Regions from separate parts of the Homo sapiens genome. Here regions 2, 3, 4, 5, 6 and 7 are each linked to region 1. The links are contacts of gene promoters, found by promoter capture Hi-C in blood cells and fetal thymus (Javierre and others, 2016). All regions are on one chromosome and are shown on one strand. Each heading gives the region's core, a stretch centred on a gene start or on the middle of the fragment in contact. The rest is flanking DNA. Distances are from core to core; before and after follow the strand shown.

What was found. The method cuts DNA at HindIII sites, captures the fragments that hold promoters and counts their contacts. A CHiCAGO score of 5 or more calls a contact.
Region 2: a contact is called between a fragment that was not itself captured here and the fragment with the promoter of COLQ in region 1, in 1 of 17 cell types (endothelial precursors). The highest score is 5.2, in endothelial precursors.
Region 3: a fragment that was not itself captured here is called in contact with the fragment with the promoter of COLQ in region 1 in 1 of 17 cell types (endothelial precursors); the score reaches 7.1 in endothelial precursors.
Region 4: a contact is called between a fragment that was not itself captured here and the fragment with the promoter of COLQ in region 1, in 5 of 17 cell types (endothelial precursors, megakaryocytes, activated CD4 T cells and 2 more). The highest score is 8.3, in endothelial precursors.
Region 5: a contact is called between a fragment that was not itself captured here and the fragment with the promoter of COLQ in region 1, in 2 of 17 cell types (monocytes and M2 macrophages). The highest score is 7.2, in monocytes.
Region 6: a fragment that was not itself captured here is called in contact with the fragment with the promoter of COLQ in region 1 in 5 of 17 cell types (megakaryocytes, activated CD4 T cells, total CD8 T cells and 2 more); the score reaches 7.2 in megakaryocytes.
Region 7: a fragment that was not itself captured here is called in contact with the fragment with the promoter of COLQ in region 1 in 3 of 17 cell types (M1 macrophages, monocytes and M0 macrophages); the score reaches 6.4 in M1 macrophages.

Annotation. Positions count from the first base shown.
Region 1 is chr3:15,520,144-15,523,232 of GRCh38, forward strand. It overlaps COLQ (collagen like tail subunit of asymmetric acetylcholinesterase), which reads right to left and starts at 1,563. Exons shown (of 17, transcript NM_005677.4): 1 at 1,377-1,563. The coding sequence starts at 1,482. The HindIII fragment of the contact is 3,239 bases long and covers 62-3,089 here.
Region 2 is chr3:15,148,609-15,151,697 of GRCh38, forward strand. No RefSeq gene overlaps it. Among named protein-coding and RNA genes, the nearest start is that of RBSN, 51 kb to the left of the region's middle. The HindIII fragment of the contact is 4,373 bases long and covers 1-3,089 here.
Region 3 is chr3:15,166,435-15,169,523 of GRCh38, forward strand. It overlaps the pseudogene COL6A4P1. Among named protein-coding and RNA genes, the nearest start is that of CAPN7, 38 kb to the right of the region's middle. The HindIII fragment of the contact is 1,710 bases long and covers 618-2,327 here.
Region 4 is chr3:15,194,856-15,197,944 of GRCh38, forward strand. It overlaps the pseudogene COL6A4P1. Among named protein-coding and RNA genes, the nearest start is that of CAPN7, 9.8 kb to the right of the region's middle. The HindIII fragment of the contact is 736 bases long and covers 1,054-1,789 here.
Region 5 is chr3:15,212,048-15,215,136 of GRCh38, forward strand. It overlaps CAPN7 (calpain 7), which reads left to right. Exons shown (of 21, transcript NM_014296.3): 2 at 57-165. Among named protein-coding and RNA genes, the nearest start is that of CAPN7, 7.3 kb to the left of the region's middle. The HindIII fragment of the contact is 7,625 bases long and covers 1-3,089 here.
Region 6 is chr3:15,237,300-15,240,388 of GRCh38, forward strand. The region is part of intron 12 of CAPN7 (calpain 7); the gene reads left to right. Among named protein-coding and RNA genes, the nearest start is that of SH3BP5-AS1, 15 kb to the right of the region's middle. The HindIII fragment of the contact is 172 bases long and covers 1,687-1,858 here.
Region 7 is chr3:15,257,374-15,260,462 of GRCh38, forward strand. SH3BP5 (SH3 domain binding protein 5) reads right to left here. Exons shown (of 9, transcript NM_004844.5): 6 at 2,388-2,430; 7 at 1,458-1,677. It overlaps SH3BP5-AS1 (SH3BP5 antisense RNA 1), which reads left to right. Exons shown (of 3, transcript NR_046084.1): 1 at 1-233; 2 at 1,261-3,089. Among named protein-coding and RNA genes, the nearest start is that of SH3BP5-AS1, 4.7 kb to the left of the region's middle. The HindIII fragment of the contact is 1,708 bases long and covers 627-2,334 here.

The DNA.
Region 1 (3,089 bases), core at 313-2,812:
TTAACTCTCAAGCTTCTCCCTTGAACTGGGGAATGAATAATGACTACTCACTCCTAGAAGAAGCTTGATGCTCTTAACTTGAATTTGCAGGGGCATGTGGGCACACACCCACGGTGACACCACCACTCACCTTTCCTGCCCACCCTCCTGAATTCTCCACAAATCTGCCCCCACCTCCTTCTGTTTCTCACACTTTTATAATTAGCCTCACACCAGTCTCTGAGTCACTCCCTCATGGCCCACAAACGTTGGCTACACAACTTGCTGATGAGCTGTTTTTATCAATGGACAGCAGTTGGGAGCTGGATTCAGAGATGTGCCCTCTCTGAGAGCCTGGCATTTCTGGCCCTCCCTGTGTTTCCAGCAAAGGCAGCGATAGTGAAATTTCTGTCTCAGTTGAAGTATTTATGAGACTCATGTTGGAGGCATAACTAAAACTTTGCTGGGGAGAGTCAGGGGTCACTGAGGTGAATTGAGGGGGGCTGTGAGGGTCTGCCTGCCTCCTTCAAGCCCTCCGGAAACATTTGAGTTTCCTCAGAAAGGTTTAAATAGGCCATACTAGTAACCGAATACTTCCCCTGCTCTGGGTCAGACAAGACAAGGGCAACAGGCTGCTGACCTCAGAAAAGGTTGCAGGCTGGCAGACACAGCCCCTTCCCCAAATCTCCCAGCCTCATACCCGGCAGACACACTCAGCTCCAGACCTGGCTGTCACTGTGGAACCCCCTCCACTTCTCCCTGGAAAGCTCACTTCTCTCAGGACCTCCAGCTGCCTTGTCTGAGGCTGAAGGGAAGTCGCACCCAGGAAGACAGGTCTGGAGAAAGGGAAAACCTAGTCCTGAGGCTGCAACTGCCCCGCCGCTGTTCACCCCCCACCCCACCGGCCCCTGCCACCTGCATTTTCCCTTCGAGGGACTATTGTGGCCATGGATGCTATCTGGGTCTGGAAAGAGGTTTGTTTACTCCACAACAGCCCCTGTGAGGCAAGCCCCCTTCGAAGAGGTCAGAGATGTATTTATAGAAACATCTGAGACTCACTTCTCTATTACTTGCACACCTCTGTCTCTTTTAAGCTCTCCCAAATTCCTGACCAAGATGAAATCATGCAGCAAATGGGGAGAATAGGGGAGGCAGAAACCATTTTTCAAAGTGTCTCTGCTTTGAGCAGCCAGGTAGGAGCCGGTTGGAACAAGGACAGAAGGGGCTTCCGAGACAAGCTCGGGTGACAGGAAGCTGCTGGGGTGGCCGTCTTCCTTCCAACCTCCCTCCACCAACAGTTGAATGGCAAAAACATCAGGACACATTGCAAAACAATCTTCCTTCCTCCCCCTGTCCCCTGACAGATGGAAGAGAGGAAAGTTGTGGCCATCATTTACCTGCTGAGATTGGAAGAACGCTGTTGATGAAAGTCGGCTGAGACACGATAGAGAGGAAGAAAAGCTGAAGATAAATTCCCAAAGTCATTGGATTCAGGACAACCATGCTGGCCAGGGTCTGGCGAGGGTCAAGTTAGAAAGGAGGCTGCTGCGGAGCCTTGCTTATCTCTGCTTTTCTCTTCCTCACTGCTGTTTGCGTGCGCGTGTGTTTGTGTGTGTGTGTGTGCGTGTGTGTGTGTGTCTGTGTGTGTGTGTGTCTTTCCCTCTTTCTCTTTCCCTCTCCCTCCTCCTCACCCCCTCCCTCTCTCTCCCTCCCCCACCTCTCCTGTCTCCCATGCCTTTACCAAGAAAGAATGCCAACCATTTCCCATTAAACTGTCTCCATGCTACAGAGAGTTATATTTATCTCAAGCTCCATATCAAATGCCCACATTAAAATTAAGATGTCAAAATTTTCTTTTTTGGAGACTGAGGTAAGTGGCTAGTGAAGAGGTGATGAGAAGGCAGCCAAGTCTCAGATGTTCACTGGAGGCAGTCCTCAAGGGCAGAGAGATTCCTAATTGGTTATGTGCCACCATCTACCTCCTTGGAACTGGGCAGAAACAACTCTCCTGATTCAAACTGAATTTCATGGAGAAAAACCCCTCCACTGTCAGCCTGTGACATTTTTACCCATTGTGTAACAAATGTAAAGTTAACTTTTAATTTTTTTCTTTAATCATCCAATAAAAAGGAGGAAGGAAGTAGTTTATATTTCCAAACAGCTTTCTCTGTGAAAAAGTGTTTCTCTCTCCAAAAGCTGCAACCTTTTGATTCAATGCAAGGCAAAATAAATGAAAACAGTAAAAGTATAGAAAAGTGAATGATTTTTATCAAACTATATTCAGAAAAATAACATCACTAACTTAATCTTTGGCTAGACAAAATTATTCAAATAAAAATTATCACATTCTTAATACCTTTTATGAGTTTATAAAAGCCTGTTATAGAGATGATTAGATGACTAAAACAAAATAATAATTCACAGAGTTGTTCATTTTGCTTTAATTTACATATTACATGCCTCATAGGAGTTAACTCAGAAACAGTCTGCTAGTTACTGGATGCTGGGGTGGGCATCCTGCCCCTGTGCTCATTATGGGGAAGGTGGAGTTGGGTCAGGGCGTGGTATAAAGTGATATTTTACAGCTGTAGCACCACACTTGGGCTTGACTCTCAGCTCTGAGTGGCAGTGGACAAGCTCACCTCTCTAAGCCTCAGTTTTCTCATCCATACAATGGAGACAATGTTCCCTTTAAAGGTTTGTTGGAAAGTTAAGTGAGGTAATGGGGATGAATCCTACACGGATTAGAACTTGCACATAGGAACAGCACAAAGGAGACCCAAGGGAGCCATGGTAGCCTGGGTGCAAAGATGGCCTCCAAAAGTCCTCCCAACCCAGTGTGTGCATGACACTCTTCCCAGCAAAAAGCAGGGCTAGTTCCCCTCCCTTAAATCTGAGGTGGCTCTGTGACTTACTTTGACCAATAGAATGTGGCTAAAGGGACACTGTGCCATCTCCTGGCCTAGGCCTTAAAAGGCCTGGCAGCTCCTGCTTTTGCCTTTTCTTGAAAATCAGCTGCCACTTTAAAAAGTCTGGACTATTGAAGAGGCCACATGGAGGGGGAAGCAGCCAGCCTCCAGCTGTTCTGACTATCCCAGATGCAGCATCAA
Region 2 (3,089 bases), core at 149-2,648, 370 kb before region 1:
GAATTTGGGAGTCTGACAGATTGCATTTTCCAAAGCCAGAAAACAATATCTCCCATTCCACATGCTCTGTGACCATGCCCCTCCTCCATGCTGGGGAGGAGTCAAAGTCTCCTCCTCTTGAATCTGGTCTGGACTTAGTGACTGGCTTGCAACCAACAGCATGAGAAAGCCATGTTACAGCCTGACTTCTGAGGCTGGGTCATGAGCCTTGCAGCTTCAGCCTTGGCCTCTTGGAGCACTCACTCTCAGGACAGACCCTCCCTGCTGGAGTACTTCCTGTCGGTTCCAGCTCCACCTGTCCTTGTGCAGTTCCAGCTAAGACGCCAGAGCAGCAGACATGTGAGAAGGGGCAGTGGGTCCTCCAACTCCTGCTTCTAGAGCCCAGACGGTCTAGTCTGAGACTAGTCAACCCAGCTGAGACCCCAGGCATGGAAGAAAGAGGCCCCTCTTTTGCTTCTTTTTCAGTGTCCCTACCCACGGAGTCTGTGAACATAATAAAATGATTATTTTACACAACTAAGTTGTGAGAGCTGTGGGGGACAGTGGGACTGTAAGTTATGGGTAACTGGAACAATGATTTAGTTATTTGTTCTTGTACACTTTCAACTTGAACTTCCAAATTTATGGGCCCCATTCTGAAACTGGTCTACATCTGCACAGAGATGTCTCTGCTGTTGAGTAGACCAATCTGACCAGCTTTTCAAGCCAACAACATTAAAAGCCATTCAGAGGACAACACATTGTGAAGTCGCCTTCTCTTGTGAGAAATGCATTAAAAAGAAACTAAGACCTACTAGAGTTGTTCTGTCAAATACAGGGGCTATTGAGCACTTGAAATGTGTCTGGTCCAAACTGAGATGTGCCTTCAGTGTAAAGTAACATTTAGAAGATAGTGTATAGAAAGAGTAAGATGTCTTATTAATTTTTATATTAATTACTAATGAAATGATAATATTTTAGATATATTGAGATAAATAAAATATATTATTAAAATTAACTTCACCTGTTTCTTTTTACTTTCTTTAAGATAGCTGCTATAAAATTTAAAATTATAAATGTCACTTGCACTATATTTCTAGCCCTGTACTAAAGGGTCTTTACAAAATATCTTGGTTTTATAATGTTGGCACAGTAAAGAAGGGGGACAAAACCATCTTTCACTCCAGACAGACAAGAATTTGCTTTATCCTGTTTGTCTGAAATTGGAGTCAATGGTCCTAATGGGTGGGATAGACCTTATGTCATTCTCCTAACATTGACTGGGCTCATTGAACCACAGACCAGGCAGAAAAAATAAAATAACACTTAAAGGACATTTTAAAACATAATAAAAATGGGAAGGAATATTTTCATTATTTCTAAATAAAATAGCAAAAATCCATCAATCATGTTCCTGAATGAATTTCTAACACCTAAGACTGTGCTTACTGAGGAAAAATAAATAGAAAAGTTGAGCAATTATCTTGTAAACGTAAAGAAATGTGACTCCATCTCAAAACAAAAAACAAAAAAACAAGAAATAGATGAGCTTACATGGGTCTCAGCAGCTACATTTTCCTCTGATTTCTGCTTATTTTCCAACACCCTAAATGTTCAGAATAATAAAACAATGTGCCACTCTAAGTGGAGCAATGACAACATAGATACCAATGGTTCAGAAAGCATGGTCAAAGGGCCCCTCGTGTTTCCAAGATCCTTTTGGGAGGGTCACAAAGTTAAAGTTATTTTTCCAATTACACCAAAATGTCTTTTTTTTTTTTTTTCATTCTTATTCTCTCCCAAGTTGTGGTAAAGTTATCAAGAAGCCACATGGCAAGTGACATCACCACAGACTGAATACAGAGACAGATTGGAAATCCAGCTGCCTTCCAGTAAGCTAAATATGCTAAACAATGCTACTTTCTCACTAATATTTTTTGTTTGGGAAAATACAGTTATTTTTCATAAAGAAATATGTCATGAATGTTAACTTTAGTGAGTTTATTGTTGTTATTTTGAAATAAGATAAACAATTTTTAATATTCTTAGTTCTAATTTCTAATTTGGTAAATAATAATACATGGAAACCACATAAACAAAAGCTCTTCAAGGTTCCCAATAATCTTTTAAGAGTGTAAAGGTTGAGAGGTGCAGGAAATTGAGAGATTTTGGTTAAAAGGTACAATCTTTCAGTTATAAGTGAGTAAGTTCAGGAGTTCTAATGTACAAGATGGTAATTATAGTTAATAGCACTATATAATATACTAGAAATTTGCTAAAAGAGTAGATGTTAAATGTTCTCGCCACATACAAAAAAATGGTAACTATATGAGGTGATGGACATATTAACTGACTTGATTCTAGTATCATTTCACAATGTATACATATATATCAACTCATTATATTGTACATCTCAAATTATACAATTCTATTTGTCAATTATACCCCAATAAAGTTGGGGTGGGGGGAAGAATATAATGTTATCCTTAGGCCAAAATGTTTGAGAACCAGTGGTATATACATGAATCAACCTTAAAATAGGCACCAGTGGGGCAAAGTGGTTTTCCATAATTTAAAATTAACTAAAAACCATGGGATTTAAAAATCCTTCTGGCATTTGTATTATGTAATAAAGATGGTCCCTATCACATCCCAGTCCCCTAGCTCACAATTCTCTCTATAATATACATTTTCTCCACAGACAATGACATGACTAATAGATAACTTCTGTTTGCCCAGCATATCCCCAGGGGTGTGTCCAGAGTTATGTGCAAGCCATTGGTGGCTAACTATAACTCCCACATTCTCAGCCACATAGGGAAGCATCTGAATGACCTGTAGTAAGAATAGTCTTAGATTCTCTTCAGTTATTTTGTTAACCATTTACAAATATAGATAGCTTAGTAATAGTAACAAATTGTCTGCAATTTAGCTCATGATTAACAACTACTTTGACATCCCTGCACACTAGACACAGACCACATTTTCAGTTAGTTCAAATTCACTGATTAAAAAATAAAACAGCCATAATGAATCATTAATGCATTCCAGAAACTGTATCTTTAAAAAGCAGATCTGCCTGGCATTTATTATAATAAATGTCTATTTTA
Region 3 (3,089 bases), core at 223-2,722, 350 kb before region 1:
TATAAAGACACATGCACATATCTGTTTATTGCCATATTATTTACAATAGCAATGACATGGAACCAACCAAAATGCCCATCAATGATAGACTGGATAAAGAAAATGTGGTACATATATACCGTGGAATACTATGCAGCCATAAAAAGGAATGAGATAATGTCCTTTGCAGGGACATGGATGAAGCTGGAAGCCATCATTCTCAGCAAACTAACACAGTAGCAGAAAACCAAACACCGCATGTTCTCATTCATAAGTGGGAGTTGAACATTGAGAATAGATGGACACTGAGAGGGAAACAGCACACACCAGGGCCTGTCGGGGGGTGGTGGGTTGAGGGGAGGGAACTTAGAGGACAAGTCAATAGGTGCAGCAAACCACCATGGCACACGTATACCTACGTAACAAACCTGCACGTTCTGCACATGTATCCCATTTTTTTTTAGAAGAAATTGTTTTAAAAAAGAGTCTGAATTAAATCAGTCACCTTGTGTTAAAGCCCAGCCTCCAGGGCAAGTGGCTCTAAATTTAATCCTGTCTCCTCGGTTACTAGCAAGCTTGGCCCCCTTGCATCTCAGTTTCCTGATCTATAAAATGAGGATGTTGACACCTACTCAGTAAGCTTATTGTGAGAAGACAGTAATATCATGTAAACAGAGCAGAGCTCAGTATTAAAGATGTAGAGTTAAAAGTAGCTGGTGTTTTATTATTTTTGTCATCTAGCAGATTCCTCTAAAAAATATATGTATATATTTTCTCCACTCCCTCTCAATAAGGGCAGCCCAGCCTTGAGTTGTTAATCTCTGGATTCCCTTGGCCCCAGGAAGAGCCTTTTCATTTCTCGGCTGAAAGGGAAGTTGTCTAAGGTGGGAATTGGGCTCCCTGCTCAGGTCTTCATGTGGGAGGACCTAGGTCCATGCAATATGTGTGGCATACTTAAAAAACCCTTGTTGTTTATATGAATGAAATTCAAATGTAATTGGGTGTCCTATATTTCATCTGGCAATGCTATCCTAAAGGGGCATTCATTGGAAAGGAATGTAGCTTAAAGCGGGTAGAGAAAGGAGTCATTTACCCCATGGTAAGTGTTTGCTGAATTCTGGAGAGTAGGGGCGAAATTATGGAAAAATAAGGCAAAAACCCAAACTTTGCTGGACTCCAGCATCCACTGGTGACACATACATGGCTACCCAGCGTCAGAGAAAAGGACCACCGTGCAGGAAAGGGCATCTCTGCAGCTAGCCCCTATAGGAGCAGCCCAAGGAGGCTTCACTATAATCCAGGGCCCTTGGATTGTCAAGAGGAGCCGAGGACCCTAAATATTGCCTGCACTGTACATTCTTGTCAGTCTTAGCAGATTGGGGGAAAAGAGAAAGAGAATATTTCTTACAGTCTGGAGGTTGCCGAGCATTCACATCAATCATACACATAAAGTGCTTAGCAGAGTATCTGACACATGGCAAATGGCCAGTAAATAGTAGATATTATGATCATTGTGATCATCCAAGACAAAATTCTGGTAAAATCATCATAGCTTCTATTTACCTCTAGGCTACTCCCTTCCCCAACCCATCTAGACTTTGGGCTACTTTTTCTGATTGCAAGTTTCTTTTTAGCTTCTCTGCAGTATCAAAAAACAACAACAACAACAACTCTCAGCTCTTCATATTGTGAACTAGTAGTGCTCGTCTTCTGTCCTTCTCATCCACAGAATATAGGCAGATAGGCACACGGAAATGAAATTCACATTATAACAATTTTGTATCTCATTCCTAGAACTGAGAAAGGAACTAAAAATATAGGTCAAAGAGAAAGATAGAAATTTATTTAGATATTTCAGATTTCTAGACCTCAGCACAAGTAATCAAGAAATTACCAGATCACTCAGTGTTTAACAAGAAAAAAAGCTCAGTGATTTTCCCTTGAAAACATAATTACAGCCTTGAATTTTTACCTCAATTATGTACATTTCAACGATTCTAATTTAAATCTATGATTCTAATTTGAATCTAAGAAATACTAGCATGGGTAGACAAAAATAGATTAGAAGACAGACAGACACAAAGATTTTCATAACAGCCAGTAAGTGCCAAATCTAGGATTTAAAATTTGGGCATTCATATGCCAAAGTGCACACACTTAACCACTATGTTTTTTCTGGTGTGTGTGTTTTTTTGTTTAACTGGGTATGTAGTAGGAACTCTCCTGACCAACCTCCACTTTAGTGACTCCCAGATAAATCAATGTTCTCCCTTCCCTCTGTAAAGCATGAGTGATGCTCCCATAAAACAATGAGTGCCTGAAGTTCCGCTTCAACCAGTGAAAGAACAAGCTTACCAAGATGAAGGCGGGTTTGTCCCCAGCTTGTTTATGGCAGTTTTGTTGTTATAATTACATAATTAATCAAATATTGTGCAAATCAGCAGGATTTGAGTGTGAGTAAAAGAGATTTATTGCATCTATGAAAACCAGCTTAACTGCTTTAAAGACTCAATAAAAGAGTTATTTTTTAAAAAATTGCCAGTGTACTAGATAGCATTACAAAAGATTGCATTTTTAAGATTATAAAAATCAATAGCTATTTCTGTTTCTGTTTTGAATTGTTTCAAAAGTCACTCTCCTTTAAAGAAACTGAAACTGGAAATTATTGATAACATAACATTGGATGGTTTATAAAGAAAATACATGAAATCCAATCAGCAGGGCTCATACTCAAAGAAGCCTTGGCCCTATACCAAAAGATTGGCAAATTAACATTCATTTATATGTATTAAGTTAATTTTTTAAATTTCATGTGAGAAACAATAGTTTCTGAGAAGAAAATAAATAAATAAGAAAATAACATTTTAAAAATTCAAGTATGTTTGTATCCTTTTTAAAGTAGTTGCCTGCTTCAGTGACTTAAGATTTGATCAGTCCACACTCGGTTCCTTAGGGCTTCTACTGTAAATATACACAACTCTTCATCAAACTGTTAAAACAGAAGGGGGCCAGACATGGTGGCTCACACCTGTAATCCCAGAGCTTTGGGAGGCCAAGTATCAAGGATCACTTCAGGCCAGAAATTCGAGACCTGCCTGGGCAACATAATG
Region 4 (3,089 bases), core at 172-2,671, 330 kb before region 1:
ATCCAGAATCTACAAGGAACTTAAACACATTTACATGAAAAAAAAACCCATTAAAAAGTAGGCAAAGGATATGAAAAGATACTTCTCAAAAGAAGACATTTATGTGGCCAAGAAACTATGAAAAAAAGCTTATCATCACTGGTCATTAGAGAATGCAAATCAAAACCACAATGAGATACCACCTCATGCCAGTTAGAATGGCGATCCTTAAAAAGTCAGGAAACAACAGATGCTGGAGAGGATGTGGAGAAATAAGGATGCTTTTACACTGTTGGTGGGAGTGTAAATTACTTCAACCACTGTGGAAGACAGTGTGACAATTCCTCAAGTATCTAGAACCAGAAATACCATTTGACCCAGCAATCCCATTACTGGGTATATACCCAAAGGATTATAAATCATTCTACTATGAAGACACATGCACATGTATGTTTATTGCAGCACAATTCATAATAGCAAAGACTTGGAACCAACCCAAATGACCATTAATGATAGATTGGATAAAGAAACTGTGGCACATATACCCTATGGAATATTATGCAGCCATAAAAAGAATGAGTTCATGTCCTTTGCAAGGACATGGATGAAGCTGGAAACCATAATTCTCAGCAAACTAACACAGGAACAGAAAACCAAACACTGCATGTTCTCATTCATAAGGTGGAGTTGAATAATGTGAATACATGGACACAGGGTGGGGAACATCATACACCAGGGCCTGTTGCGGGGTGGGGGGCTAGGGGAAGGAGAGCATTAGGAGAAATACCTAATGTAGACGACGGGTTGATGGGTACACCCAACCACCATGGCACATGTATACCTATGTAGCAAACCTGCACATTCTGCACATGTATATCCCAGAACTTAAAGTATAATAAAATAAATAAATAAATAAATAAATAAATAATAAAAACACAAAAAATCATAATGGATGGTTACTCTGCTCACTACCTAGGTCCAATGTACCCATGTAACAATCCTATACATGCATCCCTTGTATCTGAAATAAAAGCTGAAAACTTTTTTAAAAGTACACATACAAAAATTTTAAAAAGCTTAAGAACAACAACAATGAAAAAAAAAAACCATAACGTGGAAATTCTGGATTGCATTCAGAGACTGTGTAGATGGAATGGAAGTCTGAGCTGGTGGAACTGCTCTCAAGACAGGCGTAGTTTTATTTTGAGCTGAAAAGGTTCCGGCTTGAGTAGTAGCCATCCTGTTGATGTTTTAAATTCTACTCATACTAATATGGTTCCCTGTGCCTGGGAAAAACTGTGTATAAACCAACACAATTTCCACTTGTTGTGTAATAGGAATATCTGCTACAGCAAAATTTCTTTTGAAAAGGGAGAAAACAATCTTATTTTCTATTTCTACTGAATAAACCAGCTTGCAATCATCTGAAAAGAATAAACTTCCTTAATTTGATGCCATTATACATTTAACCTTTGGGAATTTGTGAAGTGGAAGCACTTTCAAGTTCCTGCTCTGGAAGAGGACTGTGAATACTATTTTAGCCATCAGCCACGTAGAAGCTGTAACTACTAAAACAATGCAAATTATGTCATCCAGTCCAAGGTGTCTAGATGATAAGAGCAAGGTACAAGTGAGTGGCATTTTATGATTTAGCCTCATAAGTTAGATGGTAGCACTTCCACTATACACTATTAGTCAAGGCAGTCACAAAGTTATGTCCAGGATGCATGGTAGGGGACAAAGATCCTACCGCTTAAAAGAAGGGACATGAAGATACCCTTGTAAGGAGATCACGTGGGATGTAAGATAAAGCTTTTGGCCTATTTGTAAAATACAGTCTGCCACAGTTTGCTTTCTGGCCATATTTCTCATGCCTCCCACATGCAAAATACATTCAAATCACACCCCTAGAATTCTCAAGTCTCAAACTATTAAAACATCAGCTTGAAGTCCAGGAGCTTGTCATCTAAATCAGGTTCAGGTGAAGATGAGATGCCTTGGTGTGGTTCATTTGGGTGCAGCTCCTTAAATATCACTCCTTTTGATTAGAGCTCTGTTAAAGAGACAATCTGCACCCCCCCCCCCGCCCACACACACACCCAACGCACAGTGATAAGAGGCATAAGATGATCCCTATAGGAAAATCCTACTCGAAAGGGAGGAAGAGGCAAGCACACTGCAATAATCTAGAAAAATTCTGAAATGCAGTTTGGTATATGCTTCCAGTTCCTTATCAAGATTCAGTCCTACTGTCTGGGAGTTCTCTGTGAATTTCAAATTCCAAAACACATCTGGCTTAAGGGTGCAGTAAAGGATTGTGAAGCTGCACTCAGAGACTATAAGAAAAAGATGTGATAAACACTCCCATTGCCTATCAATGACTGAGCTCTTCAGAGGATGCTGTTGTTGCTTCTGTTTCCCAAGATGATCAGAGTTCAGGAAGTGGAATTCCAAGCAGCTCAGAGGTAAATGAGATAAGGGTTAAATGGTTCTGTAACCATTTCTTCTGCCCCTGCACTGACAGATTATCCCAAAAGAACACAGTCATGAAGAGTAAAGAGCACAGTCAAGTGTTGCAGGACATAACTTTGTCAAATACTTCATATGTGCCAGGTGTTGTGCTAAAGGCTTTACTGGCATTATCTCATTCAATCCTTCTAAAACTTTATGAGGTAGTTACTAATCTACCTATTTTACAGATGAGAAAAATTGAGGCTTAGAGATATTAATCAGTGTGCTGAAGGTTTGCAAAGTTAGAAAATGGTAACAAAATTGTGAAATGACTTTCTCCATCAATTTGCTTGTTTTCGTCATTAGAGTGGACATGAAAAAAATTTAATCTCTACATCAGCAGTCCCCAACCTTTTTGGTGTCAGGGACCAGTTCCATGAAAGACCATTTTTCCACAGACTGCGGGGATGGGGAGGGGATGATTCGAGCACACTACATTTATTGTGCACTTTGTTACTACTATTATTACATTGTAATATATGATGAAATAATTACACAATTCACATAATGCAGAATATGTGGGAGCCCTGAGCTTGTTTTCCTGCAACTAGATGGTCCCATCTGGGGGTGATGGAAGACAGTGACACCTGAAATGTGTT
Region 5 (3,089 bases), core at 391-2,890, 310 kb before region 1:
AGAAAATTCAAGTTGTAATACATCTATTGGATTCCTTTGAATTCTTTCATTTTTAGGAAGCTGCACAAGCCTTAATTTATGCTGAGATGGCAGGATCAAGCCTAGAAAATATTCAAGAAAAAATAACTGAGTATCTGGAAAGAGTTCAAGCTCTACATTCAGCAGGTTAGTAAAGGACTACTAAACTTGTCACTCTATTTTTTCTTTTCTCCCATCATGTCTTTCCCCCATGTTTGTTTCTCTTCTTCATTTTTATCTTTGAATCTTGATGCTCACTCTGTTGCTGCTCATTCCACTTTTGGTAATCACCTCTTTAAAAGTCATTTAGAAATAAGTCATAGATCTTTGAAGAGGAACCTTATAGACAATATAGTCCAGTTTCCTAATTTCCCAGAGTGCAGAGATGGTGAATTACCTATGTTCAAACAATTTATCATTGGCAAAGTTAGGATTAGGATTCAGTTAAAGTCTGCTTTTAAAATATCTGTCACGTCTCTTCCTTATAAAATTAAGTGACTGTTCCTCTTCAGTGTTTACAGACTTCAGCAGTAGGTTCACAGTGTCTTCTCTTTCGGTGTCTTCTACTTTCAGACCTTTGCTAAACTCTTTAAAACCATATCTTGGGAAAGTGACATGTAAACAGAGACTTGGAACTACTTGTATTTATTTTTGTAAACAGCACAACAGGTACAATAATAGAAATATATAGTCTTAATGGTCACAGTTTTGTTAGAGGTAACTGATGTTGACATTGTATTTACAAATACATTGATTTCTGTAGGGATTCTTTTTAACCCTCTTTTTCTGTTGCTGCATGATAAAGCGCCAAGCAGAAGAATATTTATTCTCATGGACTTTGTGTAACTTTCTACCACTCATTTTGAGTAGATACGAGCAATTACAAGAACATCGTTGGGATAAAGTAGATTTAATCATTGGATTCCTTGTTATGACAGTTCCCTTAAAAACAAGGCGGTTTACTTTTAATACAGTGCCCAGAAATTGCATGTATTGAAAAGTGTACTGCCTGTGTTATTGGAACCTCACTTGATACAAAGTATTGATTCATGTATTCAAAATATCATATAAAATTCAAAGGAACTTTCTTTTCCCAGCCAAGTAAATGAAGTTCTTAAATTTAACTGCCCAATATTAGGAACTTTGTTTCATAACCAGTGTTTTCAAATAAAATTATCTTTGAAGTAGGGAAGGTAGTCTTTCATGTTTACTTCCATGATCTCCTTGTTTTTTCATAGATAGTTTTCTTCATTTCAATAACTATGTATTGAATACATGTTTGGGCTCTATGGTAAGTACAGGGTAATAGATGAGTGACAGTCCATGTCCTCAGGAGGACTTCATCAGGTGTGGAGAGAGAACAGTGTCAACATTGCACTATCATGGAAACCCCTTTCTGAAGCATGCTAGACTAAATGTTAAAGCAGAATGCTCTAGAAAGGAGAGATTATATGGTGATATTATTCCAGGAGTAGAATCTCTGGCAGCCTAAGGTATATTTCCATCTTTCTTTTCCATATGTACACACAGTCAAGCACATTTATGCCCTAGGGTCTTGATTCCAGTAAGATTGCTCTTTAAACCCTTGAAATCCTTGTGACAATTGGAAAAAATAAATATGAATCATTTTTTTCTAAGGAATTTTAAAAATTATTCTTACTTTATATTAAATACAGCTAAGCCTAAAAACTTACATGTGATTTTTGGGAAATAAATTCTAAACATTGATATATATGTGATATTCAAGCATCAAATGAGACACCCCAATCTCTTGAAGAATAAAGACTTGCCAGTGAAATAGAGTTCAAAAAGGATTTTTTTTTTTTTTTTTTGAGGTGGAGTCTCGTTCTGTCTTCCAGGCTGGAGTGCAGTGGCGCGATCTCAGCTCACTGCCAAGTTCCGCCTCCGGGGTTCACGCCATTCTCCTGCGTCAGCCTCCCCAGTAGCTGAGACTACAGGCGCCTGCCACCACACCCAGCTGATTTTTTATATTTTTAGTAGAGACAGGATTTCACCATGTTAGCCAGGATGGTCTCGATCTCCTGACCTCGTGATCCACCCGCCTCGGCCTCCCAAAGTGCTGGGATTACAGGCGTGAGCCACCATGCCTGGCCTTAAAAAGGATTTTTAAAGCATAACATAGCTTGTTTTACCAACTTCTTTCTGCTTTTGTTGAAGAAATGGAGTATAATCTCTAGACAATTTAAAGGATTTTCTTATTTATTATTTTAAGCAGAAAAGTCCTTTTTCAAATAAAAATCCTGTTAGGAACCCTAAGTTTTAAAACAAGATAGTCTGCTGACAGTTAAGAGAATCCTGAGAGAGAGTTGATTTTGGGGTGGGGAAAGGTAACATAATTTAAAATTAACCAGTATAGGCCGGCACAGTGGCTCATGCCTGTAATCCCAGCACTTTGGGAAGCTGAGGCAGGAGAATCCCTTGAATCTAGGAGTTCAAGATCAGCCTAGGCAACATAGACTTCACCCCTACAAAAATTGAAAAAATTTGCTGGGCATGGTGGTGTGTGCCTGTAGTCCCAGCTCCTCAGAGGTTGAGGCAGGAAGATTGCTTGAGCCCAGGAGGTTGAGGCTGCACTGACCCGTGATTACACCACTGCCCTCAGCCTGGATGACAGAGTAAGACCCTGTCTCGAAAAATAAAAAGTAAAATTAACCGTCGTAGTACAGAGTTCAAGACTTGGAATTAAAAGATCCCTGTTGAGTCTCTACCCTTTCACTTGTAGCTGTGAAATCTTAGACTAGATCAATGGGTCTCAGTAGAAAGCAATTTGCCCCCCAGGGGACATTTGGCAATTTCTGGAGAAGTTTTTGGTTTTCACGCTGCTGGGTGGCAAGGAATATGCTTCTGGGATTTAGCTGGGTAGAGGCCAAGGCTGTTGCTAAAAAGTCTCCCACAACAAAGAATTATCCAGCCCAAAATGTCAATAATGCCAGGCTGAGAAACACTGGGCTAGATATTTCAACATTTTTGAGCTTTGGTATCTTTTTCATCAATGGAATTAGTATATACTTCAGAGAGGCATTTAAGAAGGCTAAAGTTTTGAAAACATC
Region 6 (3,089 bases), core at 523-3,022, 280 kb before region 1:
AGGCCCACATGGGGGCAGGATTATCAGGATGTCAATTGGCAATAGAACTTTTCCAGCTCCATTATAATCTTATGGAACCACTATGATATATGTAGTTCATCGCTGTCTTAACATTTCATTATATGGTGCATGACTGTATATGAAGTTAATGAGGACAGTAGGGACCTATTGCACCATTTTAAAATTTATAGTCTTGGAACTTTCTAAATTAGCTGGTCAGTGTTGAACCCCCCAGCCATGCTCTATAGAATTGCTTCTTTAAAAGTGGCATAAAAATTGCCCACTTAAAGCAAAAAATATAAAAATTATGTGAAATTAAGTACGCCAATAAGTTTGGGGTTTTTTAAAATTATAATTTGCCACAAATGCCAGTCAAAACATTTTAAGTGGCTGGGCACCGTGGGTCACCCCTATAATCCTAGCACTTTGGGAGGCTGAGGCAGGAGGAATGCTTGAGGCCACGAGTTCAAGACCAGCCTGAGCAACATAGCAAGACCCCATCTCTACAATAAATAATTTTTTAAAAAATTAGCTGGGCATGGTGGCACGTGCCTGTAGTCCCAGCTAATTGGGAGGCTGAGGTAGGAGGATCACTTGAGCCCAATGTTGCAGTGAGCTGAGATCACACCACTGCACTCCAGCCTAGTTGACACAGTGACACCCTGCCTCAAAAAATGTATATTTATATATAAAGGTTTTCTCCAGTACTCTTTTATTGGGTATATATTCAAGGAGTTTCCTAGGTGCATTATTTTTATTTTTTATTTTTTGCTACTTATATTTTGAAGTGTTTATTTAATTCTGACTTCTTTTTTTTTTTTTTTTTTTTTTTTTGAGACAGTCTCACTGTGTCGCCCAGGCTGGAGTGCAGTGGCGCGGTCTCAGCTCATTGCAAGCTCCGCCTCCCAGGTTCATGCCATTCTCCTGCCTCAGCCCCCCAAGTAGCTGAGACTACAGGCGCCCCACCACCACGCCCGGCCAATTTTTTATATTTTTAGTAGAGACAGGGTTTCTCCACGTTAGCCAGGATGGTCTCGATCTCCTGACCTCATGATCCACCCACCTTGGCCTCCCAAAGTGCTGGGATTACAGGCGTGAGCCCCCACGCCTGGCCAATTCTGACTTCTGTTTTAAAATATTTCCATATTTGATTCAAGCATTTATCTCTAGGACCTCTTTTTTGCAGAAAGACCTAATCTTAGACTCTGACAGCTCTGCTCAGTATTACATCATTGGTGACTTTCTTCACTTAAAGAGATTTTCAATATTTATTAATATTTGCATAAAAGTGCTATCATTTTTGTTTGACTACCTCTAATCTGCTTGCATATTCCAAGGTCTTCATTTTAGTCTCAGCGATTCTCTCTTTGGGTCATTTTTGTGTTTTTGAGGTGATGTTTCATAGTCTACTATGGAGTTACATCTCCAGATCAGGGTGCTGACTTCAGTTCAGACAGGTGTTATCATAGAATTTCTGAAGCTGTCCAAGGCTTTTCCTTTGCTGCTACTTGGAAATAACTTTAGAAATTGGATGCTTCAGCAAAATCAAATTTTTTTTTTTTTTTTTTTTTTTTGTTCTCTAGCATTCCTTCTTTTTAGAGCTGGTTCTCTACCCATCCAAACAAAATCTACATCCATATCTTGGTGTCCTTGAATATCACTGATGCTGGGGGTCTGTCTCTGAAAAGCTTAGCAACAATTTGCTCTCCTTTGTGCTCCTCTTTTAGGAAGTGTTGAGAGTCCTGAAATGAGTTAAATTTTTTGAAAAGAAAGGAATTAGAGTTAAATGTCGGTTGACTTATGTGTGGTGAGACACATACAGTGTAGAAGATACTGATGAAAGAAACTGTATTAATGAAGCTTCTAGGGAATATAGCCTAAGAGGAATGAGTCTTATGTCCAGAAATCACATACATCTACCCCCAGCCACAATTTGTCACCATTTAAAATAGCAAAGGAATGTGTTGTTGTGGTTGTTTAGATGTCTTCCAAACAGTTTGATTTATGATATCATTAGAAAAAGTACACAATTTCCTAAGGTGACTGCTTGCAGTAAGACAAATATTATTTTGGATTTACCACCTCTTTTATTTTCCCGAATCAATGTAATCAATTCTGTAGACATGCCTGGTATTTACTAAGCATTTACCTTTACATTCTGTTCCATAAATGAGTGGAAAATCTGAAAAGGGATGATAGTGTTACCATTTCAAGGAGTTGATGATTACATTGGGGAGACAAGATGACTACATTTGTAGGAAACAGTATAAGATAGGATACTATTTGTTTTAAACTAATGTAATACAGATTGCTAGCACTATGAAGGTTGGAGAATTCAAAGTAATTAAAAGAAAGAAATTACTAAATGCTAGATACTTTATGTTAATTCCATTTGATCTTCACAGCCATCTTCTAGGGACACATCATAATCTTCATTTTACATATGAGTAAATGAATGTTCAGAGAGGGTAAATGACCCACCCAAAGAACTGGAATTTGGTCCCATTTTATTCTGACCCCAAAGTCCATGTTCCTTTCTCTTTTCTTCACTATGTCTGTCTGCACTGAGAAGAAAGGGTAGCTAAAGGGATCAAAGAGGGCCTTTCAGAAAAAGGGAACAGCATGATCAATTGCCTTTAGAGGCAAAATTGAATAAGGATTTTATTGCACTCTGAAAGGAAAAACTAGATTAGAGCCAAAGGTACATGGAGTATAAATACTGGAAAATAAAGTGGAGCCAGAGTAGAGTGAGCTTTGAAAAGGCAGAAAATACTTCATGCTCTAAGGCAGTACTGTCTAATAGAACTCCTGCAATGATGGAAATGTTCTGTATCTGGGCTGCCCAATGCATTAGCCACTATAGCTACTAGCTACCTGTGGTCATTTAACATTTGAAATGTGGCTGCTGTGACTAAGGAACTGATTTTTGAATTTTATATAATTTTAACTTAACTACATGCGGTGAAAGACTGCACTATTAGCTCTAGGGAGTAGGCAGCCATTTACAGTTTTTGATCGATGTATGACCTGGTGAAAGTGTTAAAAATATTAATTTCAAGTTGATTTGAGGGGAAAAGAATTGATAAGTA
Region 7 (3,089 bases), core at 231-2,730, 260 kb before region 1:
CACCAGACACCACCTAAAAATGGAAGATTAATTCAGCCACAAATTAGGACCTTTACTCCACCTCAGTCCCCCAAATACATCCTCATGTGCACAGGAAGAGGTTCTAGTCCTCTGTAACATATCCCAAACAAAGCCAGCTGGACTCAGGCTTCTTTCTTAGGGCAATAGAAGCAAGAGCTGCTAGAAGAAACAGGCCAGCATGGAACATCTGTTGGGACCTTTGTTATCTCCAGGTAACTTCTGATCTCATAAAGAACACACTCAAAGGCTACCCACATCACCATTTGCTGCAAAAGAACAGAAATCCTTTACAATGCTCTGTAGCCACATTATTTGGTAGACCAAAGTAACAAGGCCCAGACACATGTTATTCCCATGGTTTCAAAGCCTCTTTGGCCTTTAGCGGTTTTCCCTCAGCCTGCCCACAATCCCACTCCTTATTAGAACTTTCCTACTCCATTTTTCCCCCCCTTTCTCTTTAAAAACAGCCTTGTAGCATTCCATAAAGGTTTCTTATAAATGATAAATACTGTAATGTTGGGGACAGAAAATGGGCTCAGACCTGAATTGAATCCCTAACTCCACTACTTGCTGTGTGACCTTGGTCAAGTTACTTTACCTCTGTAAGCTTCATGATCCTCTCCATGCAGGGTTTGAGATGATGTATATATTAAAGTACCTCATACATAGTAGTTGTTCAAATGATAGTTTCCTTTTCCTTTACCTTGAACCTAGTACTTAAATATTTGTTGAAGGAATTAACTCCTGAGGAAGGAGCTTGGGAAAGAGCCGACAGGGATTATTGCACAGGTAAGGAAAAGAAAGGAAGTATGCAAAGACAGCGTTGGGTGGGTTTTCTTGATGAGCATGACAGAAACCAAGTCAAACTTCTATCAGTTTTCCAGGGGGAGGCCCTGGGAAAAGAGGTCTCTATGGTCAGATGTCAGTAAGAGCCACCATTTGCTGAGTGCTTCTTGGGTGTCAGGGGTTGATTCATGTAAGCTGAACCACCACCCTACACAACGGATAGTATACAGTAGATAGCGTCATACTCCCCATTTTACAGGTGAAGAAACTGAAATACAAAGTTAGGCCCTTGCCCACATCATGCCTTAGTAATGATGTAAAGGTAGCTTTGAATCAAATCTGATTACAGCTCTTCTTTCCTGCAGGACTTCTCAGCCTTGAATGTTCAAATGTATACTTTGACTCTCAAAGAGGAGTGAAGGTGTAACATTTTCCCAATTTATTTGACCACAGAATCCTGACTTTGAGGAACACTTAGTACCTTCTTAATGAACACAGTGTTCCATAAAACATGGGAACCCACCAGAAATAGCCCTCAGGCCTGCCCAACTCTGAGACCTTTCACTGATGGCCAGAGAAAGTGAGGACCTTGGGAAACAAATCACACAGTCTGATATCTCCCCACATACCCAGTGGAGCCCCTGACTTACCAGAAATGGCATCAGGCTCAGGTTTGCTCCCTGGCAGATCCTCCACAGATGTGCTGCTGCCCTCAGCACCAACACCGCATCCCCGAGGCCCCATGGCACTGGAGCGCCGCCGCTCGTGGATCTCATCTGAGATCATCTCCAGGTTCTTCAGGGCCATCTTGTACTCGCCTTTTGCCAGGGTCAGTTTGGCCTGCAGGTCATCCACAGTCTTTTTCAGTTGCTGATCAAGAGAACAGGAGACTAAGTGAAGACTACCCTGCTAGCCTTAAGATGCTTTCTGAATGACAGGTTCAAGTACATTTTCTGCCCATCATTCTACTTCAAGGAATTTTCCAAGACATGACTGAAGACCTAATTACCATTGTAACTGCTATTCATTCACCAGACAAAATCAGCCACCACCATCCCCAGATCCCATCCAGGTGACAACCTCTAATATCCAAAAACTCTCACTGGTGGAACAAACCCCATCAGGGAAGCAAAAATGGGCATCAGACACACCAAAGTCCCACAGTCTAGACATCTGGTTCCCAGTACAGTGGTTCTCAAAGTTGAGCTTGCATCAAAATCCCCTTGGGTGTTAAGACTCAGCTCACTAGACTCCAACCTCAGAGTTTCTAATTCAGTCGGTCTAGAGTGGGACCTGGTCTATCAGGTCTCCAGGTGATGCTGATGCTGCTGGTCCTAAGAGCATGCTGTGAGAACCACTGGCCTAGTACAACAGAGAAGGTGACTGAATGGCAGTTACAGAGGTTCAGAGACCACTGAAGACCCAACCGAGACAATTTTGAGGTCTGAAAACTCAGTAAAGCCTGTCTCTCCACTTTCCCCTTATAGCAAGTGGCCCATGTGATACTCTGCTACCCCAGAAAAGTGAAGCTTTGAGTGCAGAAAAATCTCATCAGTGACGAAGCCCAAAGCTACACATACCTCGAGCTGCACATAGTACTTTGCCTTGAGTTCAAAATAAGGCCTGCAGAAGACAGGAAGGAAAGCCATCAGAGTAATATAATACAGTGACCACAGTCAACTCCACAAGATGAACAAGAGGCATCAGCTACCACTGGCCAGGTCGTCCTTCCAATATTTAGTAAACTCTTAACAAGGCCGTGACATGTCAGTGATGCTCCTAGCTCTGGAGACTGACAGACACCAGATGGAACGACTGGGCTCACCCAGGGCTATATTAACAGGAGGCCCATCTCAAGACACGGGGAACCCACACACACATATCTTGGGGACTCTGCAACTTAGCTCATGTTCCTCCTCTGTGGGAAGGCTGTTCAGAGCCTCACAGGTTATACCCAGCAGTAAGGGTGGCCTGGATCTGCTCTCCTAATGAAGTTGGCTCCCCAGGGATGAAGAGCAGCTGAGGCTGGAGAAGGGGCTGCTTAAACCTCCTCCTCTACTGAAGTCAACTGGGGAAGAGAGAGAAGCACCACTCCTCCCTCACAGCACAGCAAGGCCACCACTAGGAGGGGGTCTCAGGTTGGTCCTCCCAAACCTTGTCCAAAGACTGGAGTTATTAGTTGGCTGACTCAGCCACATAATGGGCCCAAGAAATGCCAGCGTCCTAGCAGTTCCCTTGGTTCTGGGTCAGCTGAAAGAGCTTGGCTCTTTTTTAGGAACTTT